7 separate regions of the Homo sapiens genome follow, and regions 1, 2, 3, 5, 6 and 7 are each linked to region 4. The links are contacts of gene promoters, found by promoter capture Hi-C in blood cells and fetal thymus (Javierre and others, 2016). All regions are on one chromosome and are shown on one strand. The core of a region is centred on a gene start or on the middle of the fragment in contact, and the rest is flanking DNA. Distances in the headings are between cores, read along the strand shown.

The links. Contacts are between HindIII fragments. The CHiCAGO score rates a contact against its expected background, and 5 or more counts as called.
Region 1: a fragment that was not itself captured here is called in contact with the fragment with the promoter of HECTD1 in region 4 in 3 of 17 cell types (total B cells, M0 macrophages and non-activated CD4 T cells); the score reaches 6.6 in total B cells.
Region 2: a fragment that was not itself captured here is called in contact with the fragment with the promoter of HECTD1 in region 4 in 1 of 17 cell types (M0 macrophages); the score reaches 8.3 in M0 macrophages.
Region 3: a fragment that was not itself captured here is called in contact with the fragment with the promoter of HECTD1 in region 4 in 1 of 17 cell types (M2 macrophages); the score reaches 9.4 in M2 macrophages.
Region 5: a fragment that was not itself captured here is called in contact with the fragment with the promoter of HECTD1 in region 4 in 1 of 17 cell types (naive CD8 T cells); the score reaches 6.2 in naive CD8 T cells.
Region 6: a contact is called between a fragment that was not itself captured here and the fragment with the promoter of HECTD1 in region 4, in 1 of 17 cell types (M0 macrophages). The highest score is 6.3, in M0 macrophages.
Region 7: a fragment that was not itself captured here is called in contact with the fragment with the promoter of HECTD1 in region 4 in 2 of 17 cell types (M0 macrophages and M1 macrophages); the score reaches 8.0 in M0 macrophages.

Annotation. Positions count from the first base shown.
Region 1 is chr14:35,044,816-35,048,068 of GRCh38, forward strand. FAM177A1 (family with sequence similarity 177 member A1) reads left to right here and starts at 1,457. Exons shown (of 5, transcript NM_173607.5): 1 at 1,457-1,813. The coding sequence starts at 1,649. RefSeq lists enhancers at 977-1,176, 1,897-2,166, 2,267-2,326 and a silencer at 1,297-1,646. The HindIII fragment of the contact is 2,045 bases long and covers 982-3,026 here.
Region 2 is chr14:35,399,794-35,403,048 of GRCh38, forward strand. NFKBIA (NFKB inhibitor alpha) reads right to left here. Exons shown (of 6, transcript NM_020529.3): 4 at 2,978-3,066; 5 at 2,601-2,870; 6 at 1,720-2,267. The coding sequence ends at 2,220. Among named protein-coding and RNA genes, the nearest start is that of NFKBIA, 3.3 kb to the right of the region's middle. RefSeq lists an enhancer at 2,324-3,197. The HindIII fragment of the contact is 724 bases long and covers 1,573-2,296 here.
Region 3 is chr14:34,366,888-34,370,186 of GRCh38, forward strand. No RefSeq gene overlaps it. Among named protein-coding and RNA genes, the nearest start is that of SPTSSA, 94 kb to the right of the region's middle. The HindIII fragment of the contact is 1,722 bases long and covers 600-2,321 here.
Region 4 is chr14:31,206,193-31,209,396 of GRCh38, forward strand. It overlaps HECTD1 (HECT domain E3 ubiquitin protein ligase 1), which reads right to left and starts at 1,601. Exons shown (of 43, transcript NM_015382.4): 1 at 824-1,601. RefSeq lists enhancers at 493-1,006, 1,519-2,030, 2,008-2,177, 2,031-2,542 and silencers at 648-857, 978-1,187, 1,488-1,827. The HindIII fragment of the contact is 4,913 bases long and covers 75-3,204 here.
Region 5 is chr14:35,818,204-35,821,451 of GRCh38, forward strand. It overlaps the pseudogene NUTF2P2. Among named protein-coding and RNA genes, the nearest start is that of BRMS1L, 6.5 kb to the right of the region's middle. RefSeq lists an enhancer at 1,132-1,633. The HindIII fragment of the contact is 4,817 bases long and covers 1-3,248 here.
Region 6 is chr14:35,313,047-35,316,298 of GRCh38, forward strand. It overlaps PSMA6 (proteasome 20S subunit alpha 6), which reads left to right. Exons shown (of 7, transcript NM_002791.3): 5 at 1-13; 6 at 1,315-1,409. It overlaps PRORP-PSMA6 (PRORP-PSMA6 readthrough), which reads left to right. Exons shown (of 15, transcript NR_182666.1): 13 at 1-13; 14 at 1,315-1,409. Among named protein-coding and RNA genes, the nearest start is that of PSMA6, 22 kb to the left of the region's middle. The HindIII fragment of the contact is 632 bases long and covers 1,600-2,231 here.
Region 7 is chr14:34,643,372-34,646,683 of GRCh38, forward strand. No RefSeq gene overlaps it. Among named protein-coding and RNA genes, the nearest start is that of SNX6, 15 kb to the left of the region's middle. The HindIII fragment of the contact is 2,755 bases long and covers 310-3,064 here.

The DNA.
Region 1 (3,253 bases), core at 754-3,253, 3.8 Mb after region 4:
GGCGGATGTTGCAGTGCGCCAAGATTGCGCCATTGCACTCCAGCGTGGGTGAGACCCCATCTCAAAAAAAAAAAAAAAGAAAAAAAAGAAAAAGAAAATTGTAATTTGATATTTAATTGCCACTTTGGAAAATAAAATCATGCATTTATAAATATCCCACAAAGTTTTAGTAATAAAGATTGTTGATTGCCCTGCTTGCCAGTAAGAAGGAAGAGATTTTGAATACATATAATGCAGAACTGTGTTGTTTATGAATGCCAATTCATGAAGTCTTAACAATTGGTTCTTTATTTTTGTTTTCAATTTATGGCCGAGTTTGGTTTTGCTGTTTTGGACTGTCTCAACTCCCTGCTGATGCCACCATACAGAGTCAGATCAGGTACTAACTTGTTTACTTCAGCAGCAACCTAACTTGATTTTATTACCAGGATAGAGAGCAATATGGATTTCCAACTAGTTTTTAAGGCGTAGATGGTTTTCAAATGATTATTTGTTTTTTAAAGTTTTTGGTTTTGTTTTTAGGTTCCAGTTATACATAGAATAGGAAGTGTACAATAACATTAGGCAGAGGGTAAGGAGAAGAACTTTGGCACAGAAGAGAAAGGAATATTTAATATTTGGGCCTGCTGTTGCTATGATGAAAAACATTTACAAGGTCATACAACTTTAGGGAGCATTTCTGAATTGAGACTAGTATGAAAATGGAATTTAAAGTATCAAATGAAGCCTCCCATAGCCAAAATAATGTATGTTTTGGTTTTGCCCCCTACATATTTGTGAAAACTTTCATGCTAAAACAACAATATACCATTTACCTGCAGAACCTCAGACTTGTTTGATGTTGAAGTCATGCAGTAATTGCATGATTTTTTACTTTCGTTGAACATTGCGAAAGACGGAAAAAATCTGGGACGCCCCCTCTAACATACGCACACGACTTTAAGACACAGATAAAACATTCCTTACATTTGTCAAGATGGAAGCTTACTACTGCCCTTTGCTCTCCTTCAGGTCTTTTCACTTAACACTTTCTACAGTTATACTTAAGTATTTCAGACAAGAGTAAGCAAATATCACGCCTGGGGTTCTTCTTTCGAGGGTATTTTGGCTGGACTGTCACCCACGTTTGGAATGGAAAGTGCAGCACGAGCCGTACATTTTACATTTTTCAGCAACCACATCCCATCACTAGCCTTTGAAGTACAACGACACAGCTGTCTTCATTTTACAAGTGCAAAAACCGAGGTCCTGCGGGGTGACTGCCCCAGACGCCGCTGGTGACGGGCTGCGCCGAGGTCGAGACGCCAGGCTTCAGGTACACGTACCAGAAATGACGTCACAGGCGGTGCCAGGCGGGGATCCACGAGCTCTGGATGCTTGCTTGGCCGGAAGCGACGCCCCGCAAGGACCCGCCCCGCCCCGCCCCGCCCCGCGCGAGCCGGTAGTTGCGCCTCCCAGACTGCAGTTGGCCAGCTCTCGGGGTGCGGAGCCCGGCGGGCTAGGCGAGGCGCGGGCTGGCCCCGCCCCTCAGGCCGGCGAGTCCCCTTCTCAGAGACTTGGCTAGGCGCGGCGCGAGGCGGGCGCTGGGCGGGTGAGTCCCACTTCCCGACAGCCTGGCTCGGCCAGCGACTGGGCGGGGAGACCAAGGATGGAAGTGGGCTTACCGGCCATTACCCTCTTTCTCACCAGCGCCAGCAGCCCTGTGGTGGCGACGACGATGGACCAGGAGCCAGTGGGCGGTGTGGAACGAGGAGAAGCCGTCGCAGCCTCGGGAGCTGCGGCCGCCGCGGCATTCGGGGAATCTGCAGGGCAGGTAGGTGGGGCCGCCGAGGCTGACGTCCGGGGAGCCGAGCCGCCTCCTTGCCTTCTCCGCGGGCCGCTCTTTTAGCCTGCGCGGCCGTCCTCCGAGCAGGCCGCCCCAGCTTTGGAGTTCCTCCTCACTGCACCCCTGTTTCTGCTCACTGAGACCAGCTTGTGGGAAGGAGCGCCCCCCGCCTCACTCACCAACCCCTTGGCTGGCAGCACAGCAGACTCTGGGGCGGCCTCGGGTTCCTGGGGTGATAGTCCAGCTTCTGGTCTACCAGAGGAAGAAGAAAGGCGTGTCCCCCAAAGGCTGTCCTTGCAGTAGCTGGAAGCCAGGTGAGGGCGGCTTCAACCACTTCTCAGTCTCTTCTGGTGCGAGCGCCTGCCTGGGCATCTGCCCTTTGCTTGGCATATGCCAAACGTTTACCAGCTTTAATTCACTGGATCCTTACAGTAACCGCTCGAGGTGGGTGTTAGCCCCATTTCACCGCCGAGGCAACTAAGGCTCCGAGCTGCGCTGTCCAACATAAATAGAATGCAAGCTGCATTGAAAATTGTAATTTAAAATTTTCCAGTAGGCACGTTTTAAAAAAGTGAAACCGATATTAATTTTAATAGCATATCTTATTTAACCTAATTTATCAAAACAATTTCAACCTAAAATTACTATGAAAGTTATTAATGAAGTATTTGCATTCTCTTTTGGAGTCTTTTCTAAGTCTTTTAAATCCTGGGTGCATTTTACACGCATAGCATATCGCAGTTCTGGCTGACCACATTTCAAGTGCGCATTAGCCACATGTGGCTAGTGGTTACTGTATTGGACAGCGCTGGTTTAGAGAGTTAACGTTTCTTGCAACTTTTCAGTATTAGACAAAAAGACACTTTGGGAGGCCAAGGCGGGTGGATCACCTGAGGTCAGGAGTTCAAGACCAGTCTGGCCAACATGGTGAAACCCCTTCTCTACTAAAAATACAAAAATTAGCTGGGCGTGGTGGCGCTCGCCTGTAGTCCCAGCTACTCGGGAGGCTGAGGCAGGAGAATTGCTTGAACCCTGGAGGTGGAGGTTGCAGTGAGCCGAGATCACGCCACTGCACTCCAGGCTGGAGACAGAGCGAGACTCCGTCTCAAAACAGCAACAACAACAACAACAACAACAACAACAAAAAAAAAACCCTTGAGTTGCTCATGTATGTAACTCTTCCCATCCTCCATGAGAATGAAGCTTTTTCAGTAGCTTCATTTTTGAGACTAAGTACCTGAATGTTAGTAAGACATTTCCCCCAAACTGTGAGTATATCTCTGTGTATCTCTTATAGTATAAGATGTCGTTTGCATTAACAAAAGCTTATCCAGCCTGGGCAACAGAGCAAGAACCCATCTCTTAAATAAAAAACTAAAGAAACCCCAAAAACAAAAAACACAACTTTCCCACATACCAAACTCTATA
Region 2 (3,255 bases), core at 685-3,184, 4.2 Mb after region 4:
ATAAAAATTAGCCAGGCGTGGTGGCAGGCACCTGTAATCCCAGCTACTCGGGAGGCTGAGGCACAGAGAATCGCTAGAACCCGGGAGGTGGAGGTTGCAGTGAGCTGAGATCATGCCACTGTACTCCAGCCTGGGCGACAGAGCAAGACTCCATCTCAAAAAAAAAAAAAAAAAAAAAAAAAGAAAGAGAAAGAATTGGGGCAGAATTGGCTTTAACCAGTCTGTAGTAACACTCCTTATATGTGGAAGACCACTAAATACTGGCTCCTTTTTGGTCCAAGGTGACCATATTCTTTTGACTTTGACATCGTTTGTGGATCAGGAAAGGGATAATGTAATAATTTTTTCTTAGGTATAAGTCAAAGACATGAATTGCATTTATACACTACTCTGCATTTTCTAGAATGCAATAACTTTACTTTTTCCTCAGAAATGTTTTGGCTGGGTGTGGTGGCTCAGACCTGTAATCCCAGTGCTTTGGGAGGCCATAGTGGGTGGATCTCTTGAGCCCAGGAGTTCCAGACCAGCCTGGGCAACATAGAGAAACCCTGTCTCTACAAATAAAATTAGTCAGGCATGGTGGTGCATGCTTGTAGTCCCAGCTACTCAGGAGGCTGAGTTGGGAGGATCGCTTGAGCCCAGGAGTTTGGGGCTGCAGTGAGCTGTGATTGCACAATTGCACCCCAGCCTGGGCAACAGAGTGAGACCCTATCCCCCAAAAATTTAATAAAAATGTTTACAGAGTACAAATGCAGATTTTTTATATTGTATAGCGGTAAAGTCTGGGCTTTCAGTATACCCATCTTTATTCTTCTCTCTACCTAGGCAAGAGAGCCATTTTAGGGATGAAAACCTCAAGATAGAGCATCTAAGCCAAGTTTCACATTACTGGTTTCTTGTGACATTTGCTCCTGTAGAATCGTCCAGTACAATCAGTAGACTGAACTGATAAGACCCTTCAAGCCTTTATTACTTTTCTACTACAGCCAATAACACATAGATTTAAGAGATGGAATGCTCTTAAAAGATGTTTACCCCAAAACGAGCACGTATGAAATATGTTAACCACCTATTTCTCCTGCAAGGTGACCCTAGACAGGACATTCTCTCTGGACTTGTTTCTCCTGGTATGACATAAAGAACGTTGCGTAACAGCTTGTTTTTCTTTAGCACTACGTGCCTGCCGCTCTGCTATGCATTTTACGTGGATTGTCTTATGTAATTTTCACAACAGCCCAGCTAATAAATGAGAAAACTGAGGCTCAGAGGTGAGCATCTGCTAACAAATGTCAGTGCAGTCCCATTTCTGAGCCTATGTCCTTAGGAACTTCCTGTATTAGTGAGATCTTTCCCAGCTCTATATGAATTCAGCATATTCTTCTTGGCCAAAATAATTTCCTCAACTGGCAATTAGGGTCCAGGAAGTTTAAATCAACGGGATGACAGAATGACAACGGAGAGGTCTCCAACCACAGGCCAAACAGCATGCTTCCACCCCAAGCCTGAGATTGGTAATTTCCTATAACCTTGCAACAGCCTCCCTCCCACACACTGGGCCCAGGGTGCCTGCAAAGCTTTGCTGGAGGCTGGGTGTCAGGTGTGAGAAGCTGCTGGGAGTTACCTCCTCCCTCACACTGCTCCACCTCCACCTCTGCCGGAGGATGGAACTTCAGAACCGGAGGCCCACGGCAGCCTGAAGAAAATGATCAGGATAACTCATTTGTAAAAATCTGTTTAATAAATATACATCATAAAAGTACCAAAATAATTACCAACAATACATTATGTACACCATTTACAGGAGGGTAACACAAACCTTGACAGGTAGTAACTTTTCACCCCACATCACTGAACGCTTAACACTCCTGGCTGTTACATGTCACAGGATACCACTGGGGTCAGTCACTCGAAGCACAATAAATATAAAATGTGGTCCTTCCATGAAATTTTTGATAACCTTCTCCAAAAACCCCACAAAGGTGAGGTTTAAAAGAAGTTTTCTCAGAATTTCAATGATCTTTCTCGTCCCCTACAAAAAGTTCACAAAAGCAACAAAATGAGGGCTGATCCTACCACAATAAGACGTTTTGGGCCAGGCAGTGTGCAGTGTGGATATAAGTACACCCTTTAAATTTTTTCTTCTTTTTTCTTTTTTTAGAAAAATAAAACTTTTTTTTTGTACAAATATACAAGTCCATGTTCTTTCAGCCCCTTTGCGCTCATAACGTCAGACGCTGGCCTCCAAACACACAGTCATCATAGGGCAGCTGAAAACAAGGGGAAAAAAGACACGTTAAGCTTCCGGAGCGGAGCTCTGCCAAGCTACCGGGATGGGGAGGCCACTACTGGAAATAACTCTTGGACTCCATTCTCCATAGCCCAAATATAATGAACTTTACAGGCTGAGAGAGTTTGCCTTTAATGCTTCTCTTTAAAAAAAGAGGGGGGGCAGGTACATTCTTGGGATACTGGTTATGCACAGAAATTTGAGAGACTCATTATGTAGATACCCCTCTGATAAGGAGCAGCTCTAGGGGCCTGGGAGGGTGAAGGGAATGGCACCTCATTAGTTAGAGCGCCGAAGGAGTTCACAGACTCACCTCGTCCTCTGTGAACTCCGTGAACTCTGACTCTGTGTCATAGCTCTCCTCATCCTCACTCTCTGGCAGCATCTGAAGGTTTTCTAGTGTCAGCTGGCCCAGCTGCTGCTGTATCCGGGTGCTTGGGCGGCCCCAGGTGAGCTGGTAGGGAGAATAGCCCTGGTAGGTAACTCTGTTGACATCAGCCCCACACTTCAACAGGAGTGACACCAGGTCAGGATTTTGCAGGTCCACTGCGAGGTGAAGGGCAGTCCGGCCATTACAGGGCTCCTGAAACCAAAAGGAATTTGAGATGCTTATGGCTGCATTTGGAATTTCTGCTCACAACATAAGCACGAGGAGCCTGACTCAGTGCGTCGGGGGCAGGAAGCACCAACCTGAGCATTGACATCAGCACCCAAGGACACCAAAAGCTCCACGATGCCCAGGTAGCCATGGATAGAGGCTAAGTGTAGACACGTGTGGCCTGGAAGAACAAAAGGAAAAAAGTATAACCACCTGTTTCAACCCTCACTCCTTTCACCTATTCTTTTATGGAACAAGTAGTCTTATCTTCTGAATTTTAAGAACCCACAGTCTGGGTTCTGAAAGAACTTTATAAAGGCATCCAATAGGCACTTTGCACACATATTTTCTCAACCTTCCAAATGTTAGG
Region 3 (3,299 bases), core at 211-2,710, 3.2 Mb after region 4:
ACCACTTACTTTTACAAAGAAGAGAAACTGGGCCAGGCACAGTGGCTCATGCCTGTAATCCCAGCACTTTGGGAGGCCAAGGTGGGCGGATCACAAGGTTAGGAGTTCGAGACCAGCCTGGCCAACATGGTGAAACCCCGTCTCTACTAAAAATTCAAAAATTAGCTGGGCATGGTGGCACACGCCTGTAGTCCCAGCTACTTGGGAGACTGAGGCAGAAGAATTTCTTGAACCCGGGAGGCAGAGGTTGCAGTGAGCTGAGATCGCGCCACTGCACTCCAGCCTGGGTGATAGAGCAAGACTCCATCTCAAAAAATATATAAAATAAACAAAGAAGAGCAACTGTACCTTTGAAATGGAGAGGTATGGTGGTGACCACCTTAATCCAGTGATTGAATTTCACATCACAAAAAATGGAACACTGTGGCATTACATGCTTCCTGATATGATGCAAATTCAACAACCTAATCTAAGGCAGTAGCGCTTCTTAATTGCATTAGAATCACCCGAGGAGCTTTTCAAACTCCTAATGCCAACTACGGCAGAATCTACTTGGGCAGGGGCGGGGGCCGGAGTTGCCAAGCATCAGTATTTTTTAAAGCTTCCCACATGATTGTAATGTACAGTTAAGATATTCTGAACAAAAACGTATACTCGAATCTAACTTCTAGTTTAAAGAATATACAGGAGATAGAGCAGTGGTTCTTACTTCTGACCTCATATTAGAGCCACCCGGAGATTTTTGAAAGTAGGGCCACCTGGGCTGCATCCCAAGGGCTTCTGATTTAACTGGATTAGAGCAGCACTCAGACATTTGTATGAAATTTCTAGGTTTTTAGTTTTGTATTTAAAACCCCCAGTGAGAACAGAGTGGACCAATTTATTACTTCTTCTTTGTAAGGCCAATTAATCAAAACAAGGAATTCTAATGTACAGCCCGGGTTAAAACTTACTGGGAAAGAGGAACAGGTTAACATCAAGAGAAAACACAATCTAGAATGTGGGACATTCTATAAGGCTGCGAGCCTGGATTCTTCAAAAAGTCAATGTCATGGAGGGAAAAAAAGAGGGATAAAACATTCTATGTTAAAATGAAGTTTTAAAATGTAATGTATGCATTAATTTGAGAGAAACAGCTACAAAGACATTTTGGAGGAATTAATGCAGTTTGTTTGTTTGTTTGTTTTTCTGAGACAGGGTCTCGTTCTGTCATCTAAGCTGGGGTGCCGTGAGTGGTGTCATCATAGCTCACTGCAGCTTCAACCTCCTGGACTCAAGTGATCCTCCCACCTCAGCCTCCTGAGTAGCTAGGCCTATAGACATGCACCACCACTCTTGCCTTTTTTTTTTTTTTTTTTAAGAGACGTCATTTTACTATATTGCCCAGACTGGCCTTGAACACCTAGGCTCAAGCAATCTTCCTAAAGTGCTGAGATTACAGGCGTGAGTCACCATGCCCGGCCAGAAATGTAAATATTTAGTTGATTTTAGATAGTTAATTTTCTTAGCAGGGATAATGACATTTTGTTTCTGTGGATAAATATCTGTATTCTTAAGGGATGAAATGCTGAATATCGAAAAGTGTTGTGTCATCATGTGTACATAATTTGCTTTCAAATGGCACACAAAAAAGAAAACCAAAGTACAGAGAAAAATAAAGCAAGTATTGCAAAATATTAACAATTGTGAAATTTATGTGGAGGGCATATGGGATTACACCATAATAATCTTTCAACTTTTCTGTGTGTTTGAAATATTTCATAACCGTAAGTTGAAGAAATGAGAAAGATTTTAAATAGAGATAAAAACTCACTTACAAGGCCATGGAATTTCCATCTGTTTTACTTCTCTGCAGGCAAGTCTACTCACAACTCCACCACACTCAATCAACCTTACACCACACCCAGCAATTAAAGGCTGCCTTTCTCAATCTTTGCCCACTAGATTTCGTGCATTCAAACAAGTGTAGAAAATGCTGGGTTATATTGGATTTATCCACAATCAGGCATGGCAAACACCACCAGGAAGCACTTCTCTCTTGAGCTGACCTGCCTCGCCTATGACATCCAAGAAGACTGGCAGTTATGGTATCCATGACAACTTTCCTATCTCATTTGGGCTTGAGAATCAGGCTTCCTCTAGTCTCTGACAGAGGCACTTCAAAGTAACAAGCCTGCAAATATTCTCATGGCACAATACAAGCCATATATGAAATACAAAACTATCTACCTCCCTGCCCTGGCTAGTCCCTTGCTGTGGGACAAAAATGCTTAAGCCATGATGGTAGGGCTCTCCTGGTAAGTATTTAGCAAAGGAAAGGAAGCTTTACAACATGACAAATGGCAAAAGGTGATTTCACTCTTTTCCCCCAGAATCATCAGAGGCTCTGCCCCACCTGTTAAGACTACAAAGCGGATAAAATACTGCCAGTCTGCCAGGAGCTCATGGTCAACCACAGTGGACAAATACCATGCTTCTAATTAGGCAGACTATAATAAACTGCATGATAGGGGTGTTTCCAGAGTGGTGTGGGTCTACAGAAGAGGGAAGTATTAATTCCATCTGTGGGTGTTGGAGAAAGCTACACAACGGAGTTCCTTGGCTTTTGACGGGGGAAGTGTTGAGAAATGAAGGGAAGGGCATCCAGGCCAGGCAGAACCATGCCAGCAAATGCACCAGTATGTGAAAGCACCCAGTGTGTTCAGGAAGTGGCACCAATTTGGTGAGGGGGAGAACAAGATAGGACCAAGATGCCCTGACTTCTTTGCAGGGCAAATTTTACTTAAGTGATTTACTGATTTGCTCTCCTCCTCCTCCTCTCCTTCTCCTCCTTCTTCCTTTTTCTTTCTTCCTCTTCTTCTTTTTCTTCTTATCATTATTATTATTATTATTCTCTCTTTAAGCATTCAAAAAAGATCTTGCATAAGAACTCAAGGGAGGGAGCACATTCCTTAAGTGGCATTCTAAATAGGGCTTTCCTAAGGCTCAGAAATGGTAGGTGCCAGGGTAATTGCTTGATAAGCAAACTGTACGTGTCAGGGCAGGAGATTCCAGGTCACCACAGTGCTTGCACTGAGGACAGTGCTCCCTAAAACTAGGCATCTGAGTTCTACAAGTAGGACAATGCAGCTACTACTTATTAAGAGCAGATATATTTATTCAGTTAATTTTTAAATTACATTATCCTTGTCAGCACTAGTGATGAAATAAAAATGGCTAAATTAATTGTGTCAAACACTGTTGGACATCATCTCTGTTGTTGTTGTTGTTGTCGTTGTTTTGTTTTTATTTGTTTTTTG
Region 4 (3,204 bases), core at 351-2,850:
ACAAGAGTATATAAGCTGATTAGGTTGCTGCTTAACTAGAAACCAGAGCTGTCTGTGTCAAAGACAGTCAGTCAAGCTTCAGGTCCCACTACTGCTATCACTAAAGTCTATGCCAAAAGGCAAAGAACACCTAACTAAAGGTTCTGTTTTTTCCAGCAAACTTCATCCCCCTCCTTCTCTACCCAAAACTGATCTTCAGATAAGGGTTAGATTCAGTATTTTGAGGAAACTCTAAACACCTTGATCCAATCCCCCTCCAAATTGTTTCTCCTTCAAAATTACCTCCAATTTCACATATTCTGCTGACTTCTCAATTTACTTCTATTTTAAAGATATCCAAATACAAACGACAATTATATACAAGATTTATCTATGAATAAAGAGTTGGTTAGGAATTTTGGCAGTCTTGGCAACTATTCTTAAAAGTTAAAAAAATAAAAAAATTAAAAAAGGAAAGGCTAAAAGTAAATGCAATGGACCAGCAGGTTACGGATCCGAACGAATGTAGGCCAACCTAGGGCCCTCTTTCCCCAGCTTCACAAGATAGGGCAGTTGGTTAAAAAAACAAAAACAAAACCGAGAAGCAACCCCAACAGGTAAGTCATTACAAAAGCGCCCCGTAAGCGCCCTGACTGGAGGACAGCTTTGGGTCCCACGTAACGCAGCCGCAAGTGTGGGAAGCCGGCGGCGGGGCGCGGTGGGCACCCAACGGCGGCGACCAGCGGGGTTGACCCCACACCCGGGGCCCGGCCGAGCCGGGCGCTGAGAGGCGCTGGCCCCCGCGCTGTGGTTCCCCAGCACCAAACCCCGCTAAGTTAACTACCTGTGTCTACGAGGAAGGGAAGTTCTGGAGAAGCAGCAGCAAGCCTTCGTGCCCGAGAGGAGGCCGCCGGGCCAGGCAGGGCGCCGGCTCTCCCGGGAGCTGCGCCCGGAACTCGAAGGCCTGGCAGCGAACCCTTCTCAAGGGCAAAAGGAGCCGGCCTGAGGCTCTGGCGCGGGCAACCGGGCCCCGCCGCCGGCAGGGCCCCGGGAGGGGAACAAAGGGGCCAGCGGGGAAGTCGGCAGCAGCCTGGCCGACCTCACTCGGCGCCGGGGTCTCGCTTTCCGCCACTCGCCGGGCGTCCGGGATCCGCGCCCCCACGCAGGGCCCTTCCGACGGTCCGAGGCGCTCCCGCCTCCCCTTCCCGCAGGCTCTTACTCGGGCTTGTCGTTCCAAACCGCTCCGATCCAGCTCCCAACAGGCCGCCGGCAGAGCCAGGCCCGGCCGCGGCCCTAGAGTTCCCAAGAAGCCGCAGGCCGCGCAGGTCGAACCGGGCAGGCGGCACAGGAAAAGCCGCGCCTCGTCCCTCCCCTTCCTCCGCGAGGACCTGGTGACAGGGAAGCGAGAGGTTCTCGCGTGCGGCAGCAGCCAGCGGACGTCCAGTCCCCAGCACGCGGCTCCTCAGGCCCTGCAACTCAGAGGCCCGCGCGGTGCTGCGGGCGACGGCGGCGGCGGCGCGGCGGGGAGGCCCAGTCCATCGCGAACCGGGAGGGGGAGGGGAGGAGGGTCGAGGGAGAGCCAGGCGGGGAAGCTGCCGAGGGCAGCCGAGCCCGGCGGAGGCGGAGCAAATCCACTCCCCCGGCGGCGACCCCGCCGGCGGCCACCTGGGGCGCTGCGGGACGGCCGACCGCCGCGCAGGGGCGCCAAACCGGGTACGCCGCGTCGCCGTCCCTGCCCCGGAGCTCTCGCCCCCGCCGCCTCGGGCTGTGTCGTACGTTTCTGCCGCGGCTTTTCTATGGTGCGCCCTGGCCCCCTTTTCGCTTCCCTGTCAGTCCGAGCGCGCTCATGCACGCACGTCCAGCTTGCTTGGCGCCGTGGCTAACACTTTGCGCGCTCCTGCGGAGGGCGTCGCACGGCACAGCACAGCAAAGCTGCGGCCCAACCTGTCCCCGCTGAGCCTTCCGCCCAGGCCACCCGCACTCAGCCACGATCTTCCCTCCTCGCGCACGGAAGTGCGTCGCGTAAGGAAGGCGTCTCCCCCCGCTCCTGGGAGGCCGACCGCCTGGCGGTTCACCCCAAAGAAAACCCTTCAGAGCAACCCTGGGAAAGAGGTGCTGCCGACGATTATCAACGTTGTACAGATGAGACACTGAGGCTCCAGGAAAGCGCAAATGCAGGCCCAGCGCCGTGCCCGGTCGGCAGCAGCACTGAGAGTGCACTTTTGACTACGTTTCTTGTGGCTTGTGGTCACAAGTATGTCTGTGGTTATTCTTTTCAAACTTTATTTCACACGCATTCAGAATAAAGGATGCATGCTTATAGGACGTAGTTGGAGCCCGGAGACGTCCTACTGTACTCTCACTTTCAGCTTTTAAACAAAAAGAAAAATTAATACGACATGATAGTGTTTGAGACATGGTCCCTCAGGCAACCAGAGGAGCTGCTAGGTATGAGTAAAGAACAGAATTTGGGTCCGCTGCGTTTCCTGTAATCCCAGCACTTTATGATTTTACTCTCTTGAGGCCCGGAGTTCGAGACCAGCCTGAGCAACATAGACCTGGTCTCTGCAAAAAAATTAAAATTTAAAAAATAATTACCCAGATGCGGTGACGCACACCTATGGTCCCAGCTACTGGAGCGGTTGAGATGGGATGATCCCTCGAGCCCAAGAAATTGAGGCTGCAGTGAGCTTTGATAATGCCACCTCACTCCAGCCTGGGCGACTAAGCAAATTTGTCATTTCCAAAATACTGGTTCTTTTTTTTCTTTCTTTTTTACTACTTCTTTAGAAAAAGAACCAGTATTTTGGAAATGACAAATTTGTACTTCAGATAGCTATCCGCGCATGTCCCGTTGTCGCAGGTAATGGTCCGTTTAGGTATCCTGTTAACGAAACAAGAGGAAAAAGAGGATTCAACTATTTTGTCCCAAGTACAACACATGAGGATAATTATTTAGATGTCATGAGTGTGAATTGGAGCTGCCAGGAAACTTCAAGAAGGAAGTGGCATTCCCTCTGGACCTTGAAGAATGGGTACAATGTAGACACTGAAAGGAAAGGGAAGAACATAAAGCCTGATATGTTCCTAGACATAGGAAAGGTCACCTGTGCCCCCAGCAAAGAACCAACAGTAAGCAACAGAGAGAGAAATTTGGAGCTAAAGTGGGGAAGGCCTTGAATGAGGAATGCAGAAATTAGGCTGAGCTAAGTAGCAAGTTCTGGA
Region 5 (3,248 bases), core at 714-3,213, 4.6 Mb after region 4:
CATTTCACCATGTTGACCAGGCCGGTCTTAAACTCCTTGGCTCAAGTGATCTGCCCCCCTCAGCCTCCCAAAGTACTGGTTTTACAGGCGTGAGCCACTGAGCCTGGGGGATTGTTTCATTCTTAAGCAATTGGAATCACATTTTCACGTAGTTGGAATAATTATAAGTTGGTCTCATCTAGTTCTCAGTGTAGGTCCTAAAGCCCCTTTAGTTCGAATGATGAGAATATTTATCCTGATTCGATACTAGCTATTAGTAGCAGCTCTGGTGTCCTATCTTTGTTTTTCCAACTCCTAGCATTTGGCCTGAGTCAATCAGTAGACAAAGTTTACGGATTGTATAGCTGATGTCTCTGCCCCACCATGTGGTGGAGCCTGGAATTAAATTTGCTTTATTTCAGAAGCTGGATCTGCTGATTAAAAACAAACACAAGGAATATAATGAGGGTAAATCAGAGTAAAACCTGGAATTCTAACTGCTTCCTTATACCTACTTTATTCCAAACAAAGATGAAATTAAAAATTTTATAAATTTATATTTTAATATTTCCTTCCTGCCCCCCAGGATACAGTTCTCGAATACACTCCTCCCACTTTGGAGACACTGACCTAGAGAAATTCTCACACATATGCCTGAAGAAAAGGTGCATACAACAATGTTCATGCTGGGCACGGTGGCTCACCCCTGTAATCCCAGCACTTTGGGAGGCTGAGGTGGGCGGATCACCTGAGATCAGGAGTTCGAGACCAGCCTGACCAACATGGTGAAACCCTATTTCTACTAAAACCACAAAATTAGCCGGGCATGGTGGGGGGCGCCTGTAATCCCAGCCACTCCGGAGGCGGAGGCAGGAGAATTGCTTAAACCTGGGAGTCGGAGGTTGCAGTGAGCCAAGATGGTGCCATTGCACTCTAGCCTGGGCAACAAGAGGAAAACTCTGTCCAAAAAAAAGCAAACAAACAAACAAACAAACAAACAAATGCAATGTTCACGGAGGCAACTTTTTTTTTTTTTTTTTTAAAGACAGGGGCTTACTCTGTCTGTCACCCAGGCTGGAGTGAAGTGGCACAATCACAGCTCACTGAAGCCTGGACCTCCCAGGCTCAAGCCATCCTCCTACCTCAACCTCCCAAGTAGTTGGGACTACAGGCACGCACCACCACGCCCAGCTAATTTTTGTATTTTTTGTTGAGACGGGGTTTCGCCATGTTGCCCAGGCTGGTCTCCAACTCCCAATCTCAAGCGATCCGCCTGCCTCAGCCTGCCAAAGTGCTGGCACTACAGGCGTAAGCCACTGTGCTGGGTCTGAGACAAATGTTTTTAATAGTGAAAAAATTGGGAGCAGCCTCCCTGTCCATTAATAGGTAAATGGGTAAACTGTAATATTCATTCAATAGAATATATTTACTAAATGGAACATGTTATGGCAGGTAAAAATAACTGGATGAGAGCTACCTGAATCACAATGGGTAAATCTCAAAAACGTCACTAAGGAGAAAGTCAAGTTGTAGCATACGTAATGCATGAGACCACTTAAAAATATGAGCATTTTGAGACCGTGCTGGGTTGCCGCCGCCGCTGCAGCCATCGTGCCAGCCCCTCGGGTCTCCGCGAGGCCGGCTGACGGTCCAGAGTGGGAGACAAGCCAATTTGGGAGCAGATAGGATCCAGCTTCATTCCACATTACTACCAGTTATTTGATAACGATAGACCCCAACTAGGCGCAATTTACATTGACGCATCATGCCTTACGTGGGAAGGACAACAGTTCCAGGGGAAAGCTGCCATTGTGGAGAAGTTGTCTAGCCTTCGGTTCCAGAAAATCCAGCACAGCATCACCGCGCAGGACCATCAGCTCACGCCGCATAGCTGCATCATCAGCATGGTTGTGGGCCAGCTTAAGGCGGATGAAGACCGCCATCATGGGGTTCCACCAGATGTTCCTATTAAAGAACATCAACAATACTTGGGTTTGCACCAATGACATGTTCAGGCTCGCCCTGCACAACTTTGGCTGACCTCTCAGCAGGCACTCATGCTGTTTCTTGCTCCCTCCTCTCCCCAGTGCTATTCCCACTCCTCCAGATGCTCCAAATATCATGCACAAATGAGCAGGGCCGTGGCGGGAGTGGGTGCAGTGCGCTGCTGCCGCCGAGGTGTTGTGCATGATGTTTGGACGCTAGACTAGTTGCATCTGACGGGAGAAGTTTGTATTGTACCAGCGCATGCCTTGGAAAGACTTAAGTAATGCAAAAGATTGTCCTTTTTTTTCTTTTAATCTACTGACAAGTTGCTCTAGCAACCCAAAGAAGTGAAGAGAAAGAAGCTGCCTCACCGCCCAGACATTGATTTGTTCAGATGTTTCAATGCCTCATGATACAATAAAACCACAACATCTTCCTAAAATAAAAAATAATAAAAATAAATAATTAAAATAAAAATATGAGCACTTTAAACAGGCCAAACAATACTATATATTATTTTTGGATACATATACAAAAATAGTATGTATAGATGCATGGGTAACCAAAGCACATGGTAACCAAAAACAGGATACTAGTTACTCTGGAAAGGGAAGGAGAGAATTAGGATTGAGAAGCATCGGAAGCAAATGTAAAATGCTAACATTTGACAGAGCTGAGAGGTAGGTACTGTGTTACATATGCAATGTTCTGAATACCTTTCTCTGTGTTTAAATATTTATGACTTAAAATATTACACAAAACAGAATAGAAAAAAAGTATACCCCAAAGAAGATAGGGGAGGAAAACTAGAAGCAAAATGCCAAAATTACTATATGTCTACTTTGTACCAGAGCAAACCCAGCAGGAGACGGAGTGCTATGGGATTATCTACCAAGAATTATGATAGGCATGTTATTGGAGAGAATGACACTGAGCCAGGAGCTAAATTCTTCAAAACGTGAGAGGGAGTGACCCTGGGTTATATAGATGACACCCACATATATACTGTGTGGTATATCCTGATGACAAACTGGCAGATTTTAGGGAAGAGGGAAGCAGGAGCCTCTGGATGGAAGAAGGAGAACGAGGAGCATACCTACTCCATGACAAGGCTCAGGAGGAGGAGGAGGGTACAAAGGAAGCAAGGTCCTAAGGGAGAGCCATATTTCCTTTAGAACAAGAATGTTGAGGGAACAGTTCAGGGAAGAGAATGAAGATATAGGAGATTTTGATGATGACTAGCTATGAGTTTCAGAGCTCTACAAATATGTAAATATGAATGG
Region 6 (3,252 bases), core at 666-3,165, 4.1 Mb after region 4:
ACAGACAGTGGAAGTAAGTCAACCAAAAGGAGCTGACTTTTTTTATGCTATATAGAACAGTGAGGATCTTTGTATAATTTCTATACAAAGCTATTCCTGAATTACATCCCAGGATTCAAGTTGTCAACTTAATAATGAAATTGATATCATACAGCTGACATAGGAAAATTTGAGTTGCTTTTATTCACTTAATTCCTTATTTCGTAATGTATTTGAGGTGGCTTTCAACAAAACGCATATAATAGGAAAATATAAATAAAAATAGGAACCAGCTGGGCATGGTGGCACACACCTGTAGTCCCAGCTACTTGAGAGGCTGAAGCTGGAGGACTGCTTGAGTCTAGGTGTTCGAGGCCAGTCCTATTTACTGCCAAGAAATTAAAAACAAAAATTTTAGTAGATTTTGGGTGTAAGTCTGGAATTAAAGCCATTCTGAAGATGCTAACAACATGCTTCTGATAAGTGACCAAAAAAAAATTACCATCTAATGCTTTTACGTTTGGTTTGGAAGTATGCTTAAAGGAGATAAAAAGCTAGTTCATGTTCAGGAAGTACTGGGCCCTGTCTAAATATTTCTTAAAGGTTTCTTTTATTGCAATTCATAATTAATTACATAAATAACCACATCCGGTAAAAAAACACTTAAGGTGGCTCACACCTGTAATCCCAGCACTTTGGGAGGCAGACAGATCACCTGAGGTCAGGAGTTTGAGACCATCCTGGCCAACATGGCGAAACCCTGTCTCTATGAAAAATACAAAAATTAGCCGGGCATGGTGGCAGGCGCCTGTAATTCCAGCTACTCAGGAGACTGAGTCAGGAGACTCGCTTGAATCCACGAGCCTGAGGTTGCAGTGAGCCAGGCTGGCGCCACTGCACTCCAGACTGAGCGACAGAGTGAGACTCTGCCTCAAAAAACAGAAACAAAACAAACAAACAACACTTAAAACATTCTTAAATCGTTTTTACTGTAAATTCCTTGAAGATGCAGAGAGTATCATTCATCTTTATCCTTTTCCCATTTCACCCCAAGTGCTAAGTGAAGTGTAGTGCCTGGGTCATGAAGCCAATAAACCTTTTTGTATAAATCATCCTATTTTAATTAATGGACCCCTTTATTATTTGACTTGGTAGAAAAAAATTTCTCATCATTGGGAGGCAATACATTAGAGTTAAGCAGTCTGTTAGTAACATTGAACTACCTCATTGAAACATGGAGCTCCTGATTGACTCATGATTTGAATAAGCTAGGAATGAGAAAACCTTGGAATCTCTAAAAAATACTATATTTTAACATTAAATACTTTTTTTCAGACTGCAATTACATGCCTGTCTACTGTTCTATCAATTGATTTCAAACCTTCAGAAATAGAAGTTGGAGTAGTGACAGTTGAAAATCCTAAATTCAGGTGAGTGATATTGTGGGCCACATGCAGACTAGAAAGGTGGAGGCGTGTGAGTCCATGTGTCCTATAACTTGTGGGGGAAATCTTTTTTCTTTAACTGTCATTATAGTTTTTGTTTGTGTGTTTGTTTTTTTCCCCAGCACCTGAGATCTGTTTTTAAAACTTTGGACTCTATTTAAGAGTCAGATATGAAAGCTTTTCTCCTTATTTCAGAGTGATTTTATATCTAACACCAGAGATGACATAAAGTTACCTTCCTTATGTAAGGAAAAAAATTAGCATAAGTGTTTTCTTTTTTTTAGTTTAAGGCCAATACAAATTCAATTCCCAAAGTAGTAGTTTGCAAGTTTTTCAGATAGAACTTTGGTTATTTAGTGGTTATTTAAGTAGAACTTTGAGGAGCAATATGAGTTACTGATATATGTCAGACCCTTATCTAGAGATCTTTGGAAAGCCCAAATTTTGAATACAGCTAATTGACTTGCAGTTGCTGGATGTGTGTGTGTGTGTGTGTGTGTGTGTGTGTGTGTGTTCTTACTCACTAAGTGACTAACTCCCACACATCAGCCTTATAGCTTCCATGATTCAAATCCATACTGAGTGCTTCGTATAATCAGCTCATTTAATCCTCCCAGCAGCCCTGTGAGGCAGTTGATATACCATGGACCAGGATGCTCTTATCTTTAATGAAAATACTGCAGTTAAATCGACAGATACAAGGAACTACTGGGAGGCATTTTAACTATTATGTGTATCTATTCTTAGATCACAACCATAAAGACACATGGTCTTGGTTGTGGTGTGGGGTACGGGAGTGGTAAACTAAGCTTAACTAGACCTTGAAGAGGTTTTTCGTTTGTTCTTTTTTTTCCTAATTTGTTCTTTTGGTTGCCCACAGATAAGTCATATAAACATGACAGATTCAGAAAAATTCATAGGACTTTAAAAAAAAAAAAACAGCTGGGTGCTGTGGCATGCATCTGTAGTCTCAGCTCCTCAGGAGGCTGAGGCAAGAGGATGGCTTGAGCCTTGGAGTTGAAAGCTGTAGTGCGCAATGATAGTGCCTGTGAATAGCCACTGCACTCTAGCCTGGGTAACATAGTGAGACCTCATCTGTTAAAAAAACAACCGACAACACCAAAAGCGAATCTATCCTAGCTTTTCTTCCCGTAGGAAGAAGTCTTGTAACTTGGGTTGGGGTAGGGGTGAGGGGTGGGGGCAGGGATCAAGTTGCTTTTGAAAAAGGTGCCTTTTTTTTTTTTAAGTAAAAATTTCAGCAAGAATAATCTTAAAATCTCTCTAAGGAACCTACAATTAGTTCTTGTTTTCTTTTCTGTTTGGAGACCTTCCTGCCACCTTTAAAATTGTATTTGTTATTTTTTAAATTGGTAAGGAATCAAAAATCTTGTCTTCAAAAAACTTTGTATCATTTATAAATTCTGTGATAGTAAATATATGTAAATAATTACAGTACATAGCATAAGCATCAACAACTATTTAAACTGCTTGATATTGCCTTCAGTTGCACTAAAAAATGTCCTTTTGACAAATTTCACTTTTTAGAAGTCTAGTAGTAATAGGTCACATTAACAAGGTTGCCAAACAATTGCTTCCTTTCGAGGCAAACATCATTTAGAAAATACATGTTCAGGGCCACACATGGTGGCTCACACCTGTAATCCCAGCACTTTGGGAGGCCAAAGTGGACAGATCACTTGAGGTCAGGAGTTTGAGACCAGCCTGGCCAACATGGTGAAACCCCATCTCTACTAAAAATACAAAAATTAGCCAGATGTGGTGGTGGACGCCTGTAATCCCAGCTGCTTGGGAGGCTGAGGCAGGAGAA
Region 7 (3,312 bases), core at 437-2,936, 3.4 Mb after region 4:
GATCCTCCTGCCTCAGCTTCCCAAGTAGCTGGGACCGCAGGAGTCTGCCAACACAACTAGCTAATTTATAACTTTTTATTTTTATTTGTTAAGAGATGAGTCTCTCCATGTTGCGTAGGCTGGTCTCGAACTCCTGGGCTCAAGGGATCATCCCGCCGTGACCTCCCAAAGTGTTGGGATTACAGGCGTGAGCATCTGATGCAGGCTCCACTTCTAATTTTAGTTCTCTTGCTGTTTCCACATCTGCAGTTACTTCCTCTACTGAAGTCTTGAATTGCTAAAAGATTCTGATTACTTTTAAGAAAAAGAAGCTTTTAAATCCATGAGGATTGGAATCAACTTCTTTCAAACTTTCATTTAATGTTGATATTTTGACCTCCTCTATGAATCCTGAATGTTCTTAATGGTATCTAAAATGGTGAATCCCTTCCAGAAGGTTTTCAATTTACTTTGCCCAGGTCCATCAGAGGAATCATATATATGACAGCTATAGCCTTATGAAATGTATTTCTAAAATTATAAGACTTTAAATTCAAGATTACTCCTTGATCCACAGGCTTCAGAATGGCTATCGTGTTCAAAGGCATGAAAACAATATTAATCTCCTTGAACATCTCTAACGGAGCTCTTGAGTGACTAGGGGCATTTTCAATAAGCAGTAATATTTTGAAAGAAATCTCTTTTTCTGAGCAGTAAGTCTCAATAATGGGCTTTAAAAATTCAGTAAACTGTCCGGGTGCGGTGGCTCACGCCTGTAATCCCAGCACTTCGGGAGGCCGAGGTGGGCGAATCATGAGGTCAGGAGTTTCAGACCAGCCTGGGCAACATGATGAAACCCCGTCTCTACTAAAAATACAAAAAATTAGCTGGGCACAGTGGCAGGTGCCTGTAATCCCAGCTACTCGGGAGGCTGAGGCAGGAGAATCTCTTGAACCTGGGAGACAGAGGCTGCAGTAAGCCGAGATCAGCGCCACTGCACTCCAGCCCGGTGACAGAGTGAGACTCTGTCCAAAAATAAATAAATAAATAAAAAATTCAGTAAACTGGCCAGGTGCTGTGGCTCATGCCTGCAATCTCGGCACTTTGGGAGGTTGAGGCAGGTGGACCACTTGAGCCTAGGGGTTTAAGATCAGCCTTTGTAACATGGTGAAACCCCATCTCTACCAAAAATACAAAAGTCAGCCAGTCTCATAACCCAGTCTCTAAATAAATAGATAGATTAAAATTTTTTAAAAGTTAAAAAATAATATTCAGTAAACCATATTGTAAACAGATGTGCTGTCAGCCAGGCTTTGTCGTTTCGTTCCATTGATAAAGCATAGGTAGGCTAGATTTAGCATAATTCTTTTTTTTTGTTTTTTTTTTTTTTTGAGACAGAGTCTCGTTCTCTCGCCCAGGCTGGAATGCAATGGCACGATCTCGGCTCACTGCAACCTCCTCCTCCCAGGTTCAAGTGATTCTTCTGCCTCAGCCTCCTGAGTAGCTGGGATTACAGGCACCCACCATCATGTCCAGCTAATTTTTGTACTTTTGTAGAGATGGGGTTTCACCATGTTGTCCAGGCTGGTGTTGAACTCCTAACCTCAGGTGATCCGCCTGCCTCGGCCTCCCAAAGTGCTGGCATTACAGGCGTGAGCCACTGTGCCTGGCCGATTTAGCATAATTCTTAAAGGCCCTGGGATTTTGGAATGGTAAATGAGCACTGGCTTCAATTTAAAGTTACCAGCTGGTTTAGTCCCCAAGAAGAGAGCTTGTCTTTTGAAGCTAGGCATTGAGTTTTCCTCTCTAGCTGTGAAAGTCCTAGATAGCATCGTTTTCTAATAGAAGTCTATTTTGTCTATATTGAAAATCTGTTTAGTGTAGCCACCTTCATCAGTTATGTTAGATCTACTGGATAACTTGCTGCTTCACCTTGCACTGTTATGTTACGAAGATGACTTCTTTCCTTAAACCTTATGAACCAACCTGTGTTAGCTTCAAAATTTTCTTCTGCAGCTTCCTCATCCCCTCTCAACCTTCACTGAATTGAAGAGAGTTAGGGCCTTACTCTGGGTTAGGCTTTGGCTTAAAGATAATATTATGGCTGGTTTGATCTTCTATCCAGACCACTAAAACTTTCTCTATATCAACAATAAGGCTGTTTCACTTTCTTTTTGTTTGTTTGTTTGTTTGTTTTGAGGTGGAGTCTCACTTTGTCGCCCAGGTTGGAGTGCAGTGGCACAATCTTGGCTCACTGCAACCTCCACCTCCCAGGTTCAAGCAATCCTCCTGCCTCAGCCTCCCAAGTAGCTGGAACTATAAGTATGTGCCGCCGTGCCTGGCTAATTTTTGTATTTTTAGTAGAGAAGGGGTTTCACCATGTTGGCCAGGCTGGTCTCGAACTCTTGACCTTGTGATCCACCCGCCTCAGTCTCCCAAAGTGCTGCGATTACAGGTGTGAGCCACCGTGCCTGGCCTAATTTTTAAATTTTTTGTAGAGATGGTTCTCCCTGTGTTGCTCAGGCTGGTCTCTATTTTCTGGGCTCAATAAATCCTCCCTCCTTGGCCTCCCAAAGGGTTGGGATTACAGGCGTGAGACACTGTGCCTGGCCTTTTAAAATTGTCTGTGGAGACAGGGTCTCACTATGTTGCTTAGGCTGGTATGAAAGAACTTTAATACCTATATTTTCATATGATTTCCTTCTTTTATAACCCTAGTTTATGCACTTAATCATTTTTCTGGAATCCTGCAAAATACCTGACCAATACTCCTCAAAACTGTCAAAGTCATGAAAAAAAGGGAAGATTGAGACACTACCACAGACCAGAGGAGACAACTAAATACAATGTGGTTTCTTGGATTAGATCCCGGAACAGAAAAAGGACATTGGTGGAAAAACTAGTGGCAGTCTGGCATCTAGTTAATAATAATGTACCAATGTTAGTCTCTTACTTTCAGGAAATGTGCCACAGTATTGTAAGATGACCACTTTAGGGGAAACTGAAACTGAGTGAGGAGCATGTGGAAACTGTACTTACTATCTTTGCAACTTGTTTGTAAATCTAAAATTATTGCAAAATAAAAAGCTTATTTTTATTTTATTTATTTTATTTTTTTTGAGACAGGGTCTCACTCTGTCACCCAGGCTGGAGTGCAGTGGCACGATCTCGCCTTACTGTAACCTCCGCCTCCTGGGTTCAAGCGATTCTCCTGCCTTGGCCTCCCGAGTAGCTGGGATTACAGGTGCCTGCCACCACGTCTGGCTGATTTTTGTATTTTTAGTTGAGACGGAGTTTCACCATTTTGGTCAGGCTGGTCTCGAACTCCTGGCC